2 separate regions of the Homo sapiens genome follow, and region 1 is linked to region 2. The links are contacts of gene promoters, found by promoter capture Hi-C in blood cells and fetal thymus (Javierre and others, 2016). All regions are on one chromosome and are shown on one strand. The core of a region is centred on a gene start or on the middle of the fragment in contact, and the rest is flanking DNA. Distances in the headings are between cores, read along the strand shown. Region 1 overlaps FBXL20 (F-box and leucine rich repeat protein 20). Region 2 holds the start of MED1 (mediator complex subunit 1).

Region 1 (3,844 bases), core at 893-3,392, 190 kb after region 2:
TTTAAGAGATGGGATCTCACTCTGTTGCCCAGGCAGGAGTGCAGTGGCACCTTGTTAGCACACTGCAGCCTCGAACTCCTAGGCTTAAGATCCTCCCACCTCAGCATCCCCAGTAGCTAGGACTACAGGCACACACCACCACACCTAGGTAATTTTATGAAAAACTTGTTTTTTTCATTTTTTAAGACAGGGTCTCCTCTGTCACCCAGGCTGGAGTGCAGTGGCTCGATGTTGGCTCACTGCAACCTCTGTCTCCCAGGCTCAAGGCTTCCTGCCACCCCAGCCTCCCAACAGCTGAGACTACAGGCGTGTGCCATCACGCCAGCCTGATTTTTTGTATTTTTGGTAGAGACGGCATTTTACCATGTTGCCCAGGCCGGTTTCAAACTCCTGAGCTCAAGCGATCTGCCTGCCTTGGCCTTCAGAAGTGCTGGGATTATAGGTGTGAGCCACCATGCCCGGCCTTAAAAAACTATTTTGTGGAGACAAGGTCTTGCTATGTTTCCCAGGCTAGTCTCAAATTCCTGGCCTCAAGCGATCCTCCCACCTCAGCCTCCCAAAGTGCTCGGATTACAGGTGTGAGTCACTGTGCCAGGCCCAGATTTTTACCTTTGCTTTTGGACCTATCCACCATAATAGAGAGACCCAGGTATAGCCAAATAACTAGAAAAAGAAGTTTTTTGTTCTTTTTTTTTGAGACAGAGTCTCGCTCTGTCACCCAGGCTGGAGCGCAGTGGCATGATCTTGGCTCACTGCAAGCTCTGCCTCCCAGGTTCACGCTATTCTCCTGACTCAGCCTCCCCAGTAGCTGGGACTACAGGTGCATGCCACCACGCCCGGCTAATTTTCTTTTTGTATTTTTAGTAGAGGCAGAGTTTCACCGTGTTAGCCAGGATGGTCTCGACCTCCTGACCTCGTGATCCGCCCGCTTCAGCCTCCCAAAGTGCTGGGATTACAGGCATGAGCCACTGCGCCCGGCCGAAAAAGAAGTTTTAAAAAGCTGGATGAATCTGTGTGTTAGATTGTTCTGCTCAACAGATGTTTATTGGAACATCTGCTTCACACCTGCTGTAGGAAAGGCAGTGTGCTTATTCAGGCCCTTAATACCAACCTCTAGGCCAGTCGCGGTGGCTCACGCCTGTAATCCCAGCACTTTGGGAAGCTGAGGCATGAGGATCACCTGAAGTCAGGAGTTCAAGACCAGCCTGGTCAACATGACGAAATGCCATCTCAACTAAAAATACAAAAATTAGCCGAGCATGGTGGCAGGTGCCTGTAATCCCAGCTGCTCAGGAGGCTGAGGCAGGAAAATCGCTTGAACCAGGAGGCGGAGGTTGCAGTGAGCCAAGATCACACCATTGCACTCCAGCCTGGGCAACAAGATGAAACTCTATCTCAAAAAAAATACCAACCTCTAAAAAATCCACGTTGGCCACATGGCCTTGAGCAAATAAAAGAGTACCAAACTTCATCTTGAGTTCGAGTTGGCCTCAGTTCCTCTTCCCCTCTTCAGACATAGAGGACTGTGAGCATAATTGCACTGGGGGTGGCCTTGCAGCCATTTTTTTTCTTCACCAAAGAGAATGAGAGCCACAGGTCAACCAGAGCCTCTTACGTGCCTACTTACATTAGGGTTCCTAGACTGCCTGGCTGCCAGGAGTCTCTTCCATCTCCCATCCTTGGGCGGACCACTTGAGGTCAGGAGTTCGAGACCAGTCTGGCCAACATGGTGAAACCCCGTCTCTACTAACAATACAAAAATTAGCCTTTGTATTTTTAGTAGAAACGGGGTTTCACCATGTTAGCCTGGATGGTCTCAATCTCCTGACCTCGTGATCCGCCCGTCTCGGCTTCCCAAAGTGCAGGGATTACAGGCGTGAGCCACCGCGCCCGGCCCTCAGTTTTATTATTACACAAACAGGTACCAAAGTCATATGAGTTGTTCTGGTCATTGAGAACAACCTAGGATGGAACAAAGTAGAACCCAGGCCCTCTAACATCCTGACCAGTGCTCAGCCTTTGCCCTGCTTTTATGTTCATTGAGCCCCTCGGTAGTTTTTCTAAGAACCAACATTGCTCTTTCTGTTTAAGCCCTCTCTTAAACGTTTAATGTTTCTGTCTTGTTTCAGACCCATTTACCCAATATTAAAGTCCACGCCTACTTCGCACCTGTCACTCCACCCCCATCAGTAGGGGGCAGCAGACAGCGCTTCTGCAGATGCTGCATCATCCTATGACAATGGAGGTGGTCAACCTTGGCGAACTGAGTATTTAATGACACTTCTAGAGCTACCGTGGAGTCTCTCCAGTGGAAGCAACCCCAGTGTTCTGAGCAAGGGTTACAAAGTGAGGGAGGGCAGTGTCCAGATCCCCAGAGCCACACATACATACACATACACACCCTTACCCCCATCCACTCTAGCTTTGTGACCATGGGACTGAAGTTTGTGATGGCTTTTTTATCAAGTAGATTGGTAAAATTTAACCATTCCTGTTGAGGTGCCCATAAGAAAATCATAGGCCAAGATAGGGAGGGGCATTCCAGCAAACCCCGTGTTAATGCTACTGTGGTTTTTAAATTTTTGTCTAGGGGTTTCTTTGGGGATTTTAGAACAGCATCTGCTGTCCTCCGGGGTCAAGAAAAGCATGGAAAGACAATATATGATGTACCCAGGGACCAGAAAGAAAATTTCTTTGCATCTTAGAAATGGTAGACATTCATTGTGACTAAAGAGCTTCTATGCTTCCTTGTTTCCATGCCAACATGCTGAGCATGCTCACAAAGAAGGCTCGTCCATTCCTCCTGTGTTTTAGTATTTGGCCCAGAGGTTTCCTAAATGGTTGCCTTGAAATCACTGTGGTCCAAATGTAATTCTTACACACTCAAATTATCACTGTCTGTAGCACACTTGTGCACCTGTCTTACATTCTCTGTTGCTCCCCCCCACACTCTTGCTCAGTCTGTCACCTGTTCAGTCTGCTTACTCACTCAATTGTTACCCTTTTGCTGTTGTCGTGTTTACAGTTTGCATTTTGAATGATTAGTTGGGATTACCAAACATTTTTTAAAAAGATATTATCAATAAATATTTTTTTAATTCTAAATTTTACCATTAGGGGACCCTGCCTGAATCTTTGCCAACCTGCAAGGAAACTCTAATGAAAGCAAGAAAAGTTATGAGAAGAAACTGTTTTGATGAAAACAGATGCTACCTTTTGGTTTCTATTTTATCTTCTGATATGTGATAATTCGCATGGTATCCCCAATATTCCCCCTACATATTCTTCCTTCTGTCAGACTCCACCAACTGTATCATAAGGAAAGAGAGAGATGTATTATTAGGAAAGAGTGAAAATGATAAATCACAAAACAGAGCCTGAAAGTCCCCAACACCCAAGTTCAGACATTAATGATTAATGTTATTATATATTTACTGAAATCTAGGAGTGATCAGTGGCATCTCTGACCTATGAGGTTGTTTTAACAGGAATGCCACTAGAGGAGCTGTGTATTCTAGCCAGTCTGTTTCTCTCTTTTCCCCCATTTCAGCCTTTCAGGGATACAAGAATGGCTCTATAACAGCTGGTCAATTGTATGTCAGTGTTAATGGATTCATATCTAGTGTTGGCACCCCAAAGGGCCAGAACCTTCCCATAACCTGTCAGTCATCTCTCTTTTCTGCCCCAGTCTTTTTTTTTTTTTTTTTTTTTTTTTAAGACGGGTTCTCACTCTTGCCCAGACTGGAGTGCAGTGGTGCGATCTCGGCTCACCGCAACCTCCACTTCCCAGGCTCAAGCGATTCTCTTGCCTCAGCCTACCGAGTAGCTGGGATTACAGGCATGC
Region 2 (4,300 bases), core at 1-2,500:
CATGATCTCGGCTCACTGCAACCTCTGCCTCCCAGGTTCAAGCGCTTCTCCTGCTTCAGCCTCCTGAGTAGCTCCGCGACCAGCCGTGTTTTCATGTTTGTATTAGCAGCTCCAAATATACACATATTAGGACTCCACAGATGCTTACTAAGTGAAGAACACTTAGTTTGAGGATAGTAAAGGATACAGTTTTTTCTTTTTGAGACAGTCTCACTCTGTCACCCAGGTTGGAGTGCAGTGACGCGATCTCTGCTCACTGCAACTTTCGCTTCACGGGTTCCAGAGATTCTCCTGCTTCAGCCTCCCGAGTAGCTGGGATTACAGGAGCGCACCACCACACCTGGCTAATTTTTGTATTTTTCGTAGAGACGGAGTTTTACCATGTTAGCCAGGCTGGTCTCAAACTCCTGACCTGATGATCCACCTACCTTGGCCTCCCAAAGTGCTGGGATTACAGGCATGAGCCACTGCGCCTAGCCAGAAATAGTTTTGAAACTAAAAAAATGAGAAAAGGGGAATTAACTGTGCTATAGGCTCGCTTTGAACGTCATGTTACAATGCGCCACTATCTTTCTTAGGATGTAATTATTGCATCTAGTATCTCAGGTTAAACTTATCTTTCATAAGACACTCCTGATACCAATAGCCTTTGAAAATCTAGTCATGGCCGGGTGTGGTGGCTCATGCCTGTAATCCCAGCACTTTGGGAGGCCGAGGCGGGCGGACAGCGAGGTCAGGAGTTCGAGACCAGCCTGGCCAACACGGCGAAACCCCGTCTCTACTAAAAATAGCTGGGCGTGGTGGCGGGTGCCTGTAATCCCAGCTACTCGGGAGGCTGAGGCAGGAGAATCGCTTGAACCCGGGAGGCGGAGGTTGCAGTGAGCCGACATCGTGCCATTGCACTCCAGCCTGGGCGACAAGAGCAAGACTCCATCTCAAAAAAAAAAAAAAAAAAATTAAAAAAAAAAGAAAAGCTAGTCTTTCAGTACAGGGATCTGGAGATTTTAATTTGCGAGCTGTTTAACTGCTAAAATAAAAAAAAAATGGCGGTTTCCGCAGGGGAGCCGAAAGCTACCGGCCGGCAGGTTTAATATCCAGCGGCGCGAGGCCTGAGACAGCTCAGATCAAAGGGAAGACTGCGCTGAAAGAAATCTCGCGAGGCCGACGCATTGACCAATATTCGCGAGATTTCGATGCCCTGTCCTCTTCCTCTCTCTGGCAGGACCACGGTTTATCTCGCGAATTTTGGGAAGTTCCGTTGGGGAAGATGGCGGCGGCCTCGAGCACCCTTCTCTTCTTGCCGCCGGGGACTTCAGATTGATCCTTCCCGGGAAGAGTAGGGACTGCTGGTGCCCTGCGTCCCGGGATCCCGAGCCAACTTGTTTCCTCCGTTAGTGGTGGGGAAGGGCTTATCCTTTTGTGGCGGATCTAGCTTCTCCTCGCCTTCAGGATGAAAGCTCAGGGGGAAACCGAGGGTAAGTGACTGTAGGGGAAAGGAGGGGGCGGGACACAACTGGGGGAGCCAGTTTGTGAGAGGAGGTTCTTGCAGATGTCCCATGGGGGCCACTTTAGGGGCATAGAGTCCAGGAGAGGGAATGTGTATTAGTTTTAGATTGTCACTATACCCTCCTTGGTGATTATAGAGCTTCGACTTTAGGGCGATGGGGACTCTCAACTTCTGTGAAGATTTCATGCTCGACTAGGGCACTTTTGGCCTAAAGTGGTGGGAGACGGGGCAAATGAATACAAAATCAGCTTACATCTCGTTCCAGAAGAGACGCCTGAATAAATTTAGGGCTGTGTGTAAACGTACTGGAGACTATTTTGGCATCAATGAAATGATTAGGTCCTTATATTTATTAGCAGCCAGCAGTTCTCTACAATGTCAAGTGTTCAGATCCTGTGCCATTGTGTATTTTTAAAGTGCGCTGAATTTCGTTCTTTTATTGACCGAACTACGAACTGCAGAAAAACAACTTTTCTGTGGAACTTTACTAAGATTTTCTAAAGTTCCACACTCCGGCTAAGATGCTGCCTTAGCATTTTGGGCATAGTTCTGTTGATACAGTGAACTGTGTTATTGTTTATCTTCTCCAGTTTCCTCTGAGCTTTGCAGATTAGAGTCCTTGCCTGATTATTTTTGTATAGTTTCTGGCACGTAATAGTCGCTCAAAAAGTGTTGGAGCATCGAAGTACAGATATTTATCAGCAGGTTTCTCAAGAAAAACAAAGAGTGTGTTTTGGAGCAGAGGTCGAAAGGTGAGGCCGGGAGCAGTGACTCACACCTGTAATCCCAGCGCTTTGGGAGGCTGCGGCTGGAGGATCCCTGGAGCCCAGGAGTTCGCGACCAGCCTGGGCAACATACTGAGGCCCTGTCTCTACAAAAAAAATAAAAAAATTGCCGGGCACTGTGGCTCACGCGTGTAATCCCAGCACTTTGGGAGGTTGAGGCGGGTGGATCACCTGAGGTTGGGAGATCGAGACCAGCCTGACCAACATGGAGAAAACCCGTCTCTACTAGAAATACAAAATTAGCCGGGCGTGGTGGTGAATGCCTGTAATCCCAGCTACCTGGGAGGCTGAGGTGGGAGGATTGCTTCAACCCAGGAGGTGGAGGTTGTGGTGAGCCAAGACTGCGCCATTGCATTCCTACCTGGGCTACAAGAGCGAAACTTCGTCTCAAAAAAAAAAAAAAAAAAAAAAGGCCGGGTGTGGTGGCTCACTCCTGTAATCCCAGCACTTTGGGAGGCTGAGGTGGGCGGATCACCTGAGGTTAGGAGTTCAAGACCAGACTGGCTAACATGGTGAAACCCTTTCTCTACTAAAAATACAAAATTAGCCAGGCACAGTGGCATGCCTGCAATCCCAGCTACTTGGTAGGCTGAGGCAGGAGAATCACCCAAACCCGGGAGGTGGAGGTTGCAGTGAGCCAAGATAGTGCCACTGGACTCCAGTCTGGGCAACAAGAGCAAAACTCCGTCTCAAAAAAAAAAAAAAAGAAAAAAAATTGAAAATAAATAAAATAAAAAATTAGCTCCAGGTAGTGGCTCAAGGCTGTAATCCCAGCACCTTGGGAGGCCGAAGCGGGCGAATCACTTGAGCCCACAAGTTGGAGACCAGCCTAGACAACCTGGCAAAAGCCTGTCTCTACAACAGATACAAAAATTAGCTAGGCATGGTGGCACAAGCCAGTAGTCCCAGCTACTTGGGAGGCTGAGGTGGGAGGATTACCTGAATCCTGTAGGTCAAGGCTCCAGTGAGCCAGAATCATGCCACTGCACTGTAACCTGGGCGACAGAGCGAGACCCTGTTTCAAGGGAAAATTAGCTATAGTCTCAGCTACTCTGAAGGCTGAGCTGGGAGGATCACTTGATCCTGGAGCATGGGAGGTTGAGGCTGCAATAGGCCTTGATTGTGCCAGTGCACTCAAGCTGGGGCTACAGAGTGATACTCTGTCTTAAAAAAAAAAAAGAAAAGAAAGATGTACTCCTTGGGTGCAAGGAGACAACAAGTGTAAAAATGGAAACTTCATGAAGTAGGAGTTTTTGTCTAGTTTGTTCATTGCTGTCTTTTTAGCATTTTCATTTATTTATTTATTTATTTGAGACAGAGTTTTGCTCTTGTTGCCCAGGTTGGAGTGCAGTGGCGCAATCTGGGCTCACTGCAACCTCCGCCTCCTGGGTTCAAGTGATTCTCCTGCCTCAGCCTTCCGAGTAGCTGGGATTACAGGCATGTACCACCAAGCCCGGCTAATTTTGTATTTTTAGTAGAGATGGGGTTTCTCCGTGTTGGTCAGGCTGGTCTCGAATTCCCAACCTCAGGTGATCCACCCGCCTTGGCCTCCCAAAGTGCTGGGATTACAGGCGTGAGCCACTCCGCCCAGCCAGCATTTTCATTTATTTTTTTTCTTTTTTTTAAATTTTCCTCTCTAGCCCAGTTCAATAACTTTTTTTTTTTTTTTTTTGACACAATGTCTCCCTCTGTTGCCTAGGATGGAGTAAGTGGTGTGATCAAGGCTCATCACTGAAGCTTCGACCTCCCAGGCTGAGGTGATCCTTCTGCCTCAGCCTCCAGAGTAGCTGGGGACTGACTACAGGCACATGCCAGGAGGCTTGGCTAATTTTTTTCTTTCTTTTTTTTTTTGAGACAGTGTTTCGCTCTGTTGCCCATGCTGGAGTGCAATAGTGTGATCTCGGCTCACTGCAACCTCTGCCTCCTGGATTCAAGCAATTCTCCTCCCTTAGCCTCCCAAGTAGCTGGGATTACAGGCATGCACCACCACATCTGGCTAATTTTGTAT

Evidence for each region. The method cuts DNA at HindIII sites, captures the fragments that hold promoters and counts their contacts. A CHiCAGO score of 5 or more calls a contact.
Region 1: a contact is called between a fragment that was not itself captured here and the fragment with the promoter of MED1 in region 2, in 1 of 17 cell types (M1 macrophages). The highest score is 5.0, in M1 macrophages.

The regions. Positions count from the first base shown.
Region 1 is chr17:39,259,853-39,263,696 of GRCh38, reverse strand. It overlaps FBXL20 (F-box and leucine rich repeat protein 20), which reads left to right. Exons shown (of 15, transcript NM_032875.3): 15 at 2,130-3,844. The coding sequence ends at 2,237. Among named protein-coding and RNA genes, the nearest start is that of MIR548BC, 36 kb to the left of the region's middle. The HindIII fragment of the contact is 6,330 bases long and covers 1-3,844 here.
Region 2 is chr17:39,448,213-39,452,512 of GRCh38, reverse strand. MED1 (mediator complex subunit 1) reads left to right here and starts at 1,250. Exons shown (of 17, transcript NM_004774.4): 1 at 1,250-1,475. The coding sequence starts at 1,451. The HindIII fragment of the contact is 4,305 bases long and covers 1-4,031 here.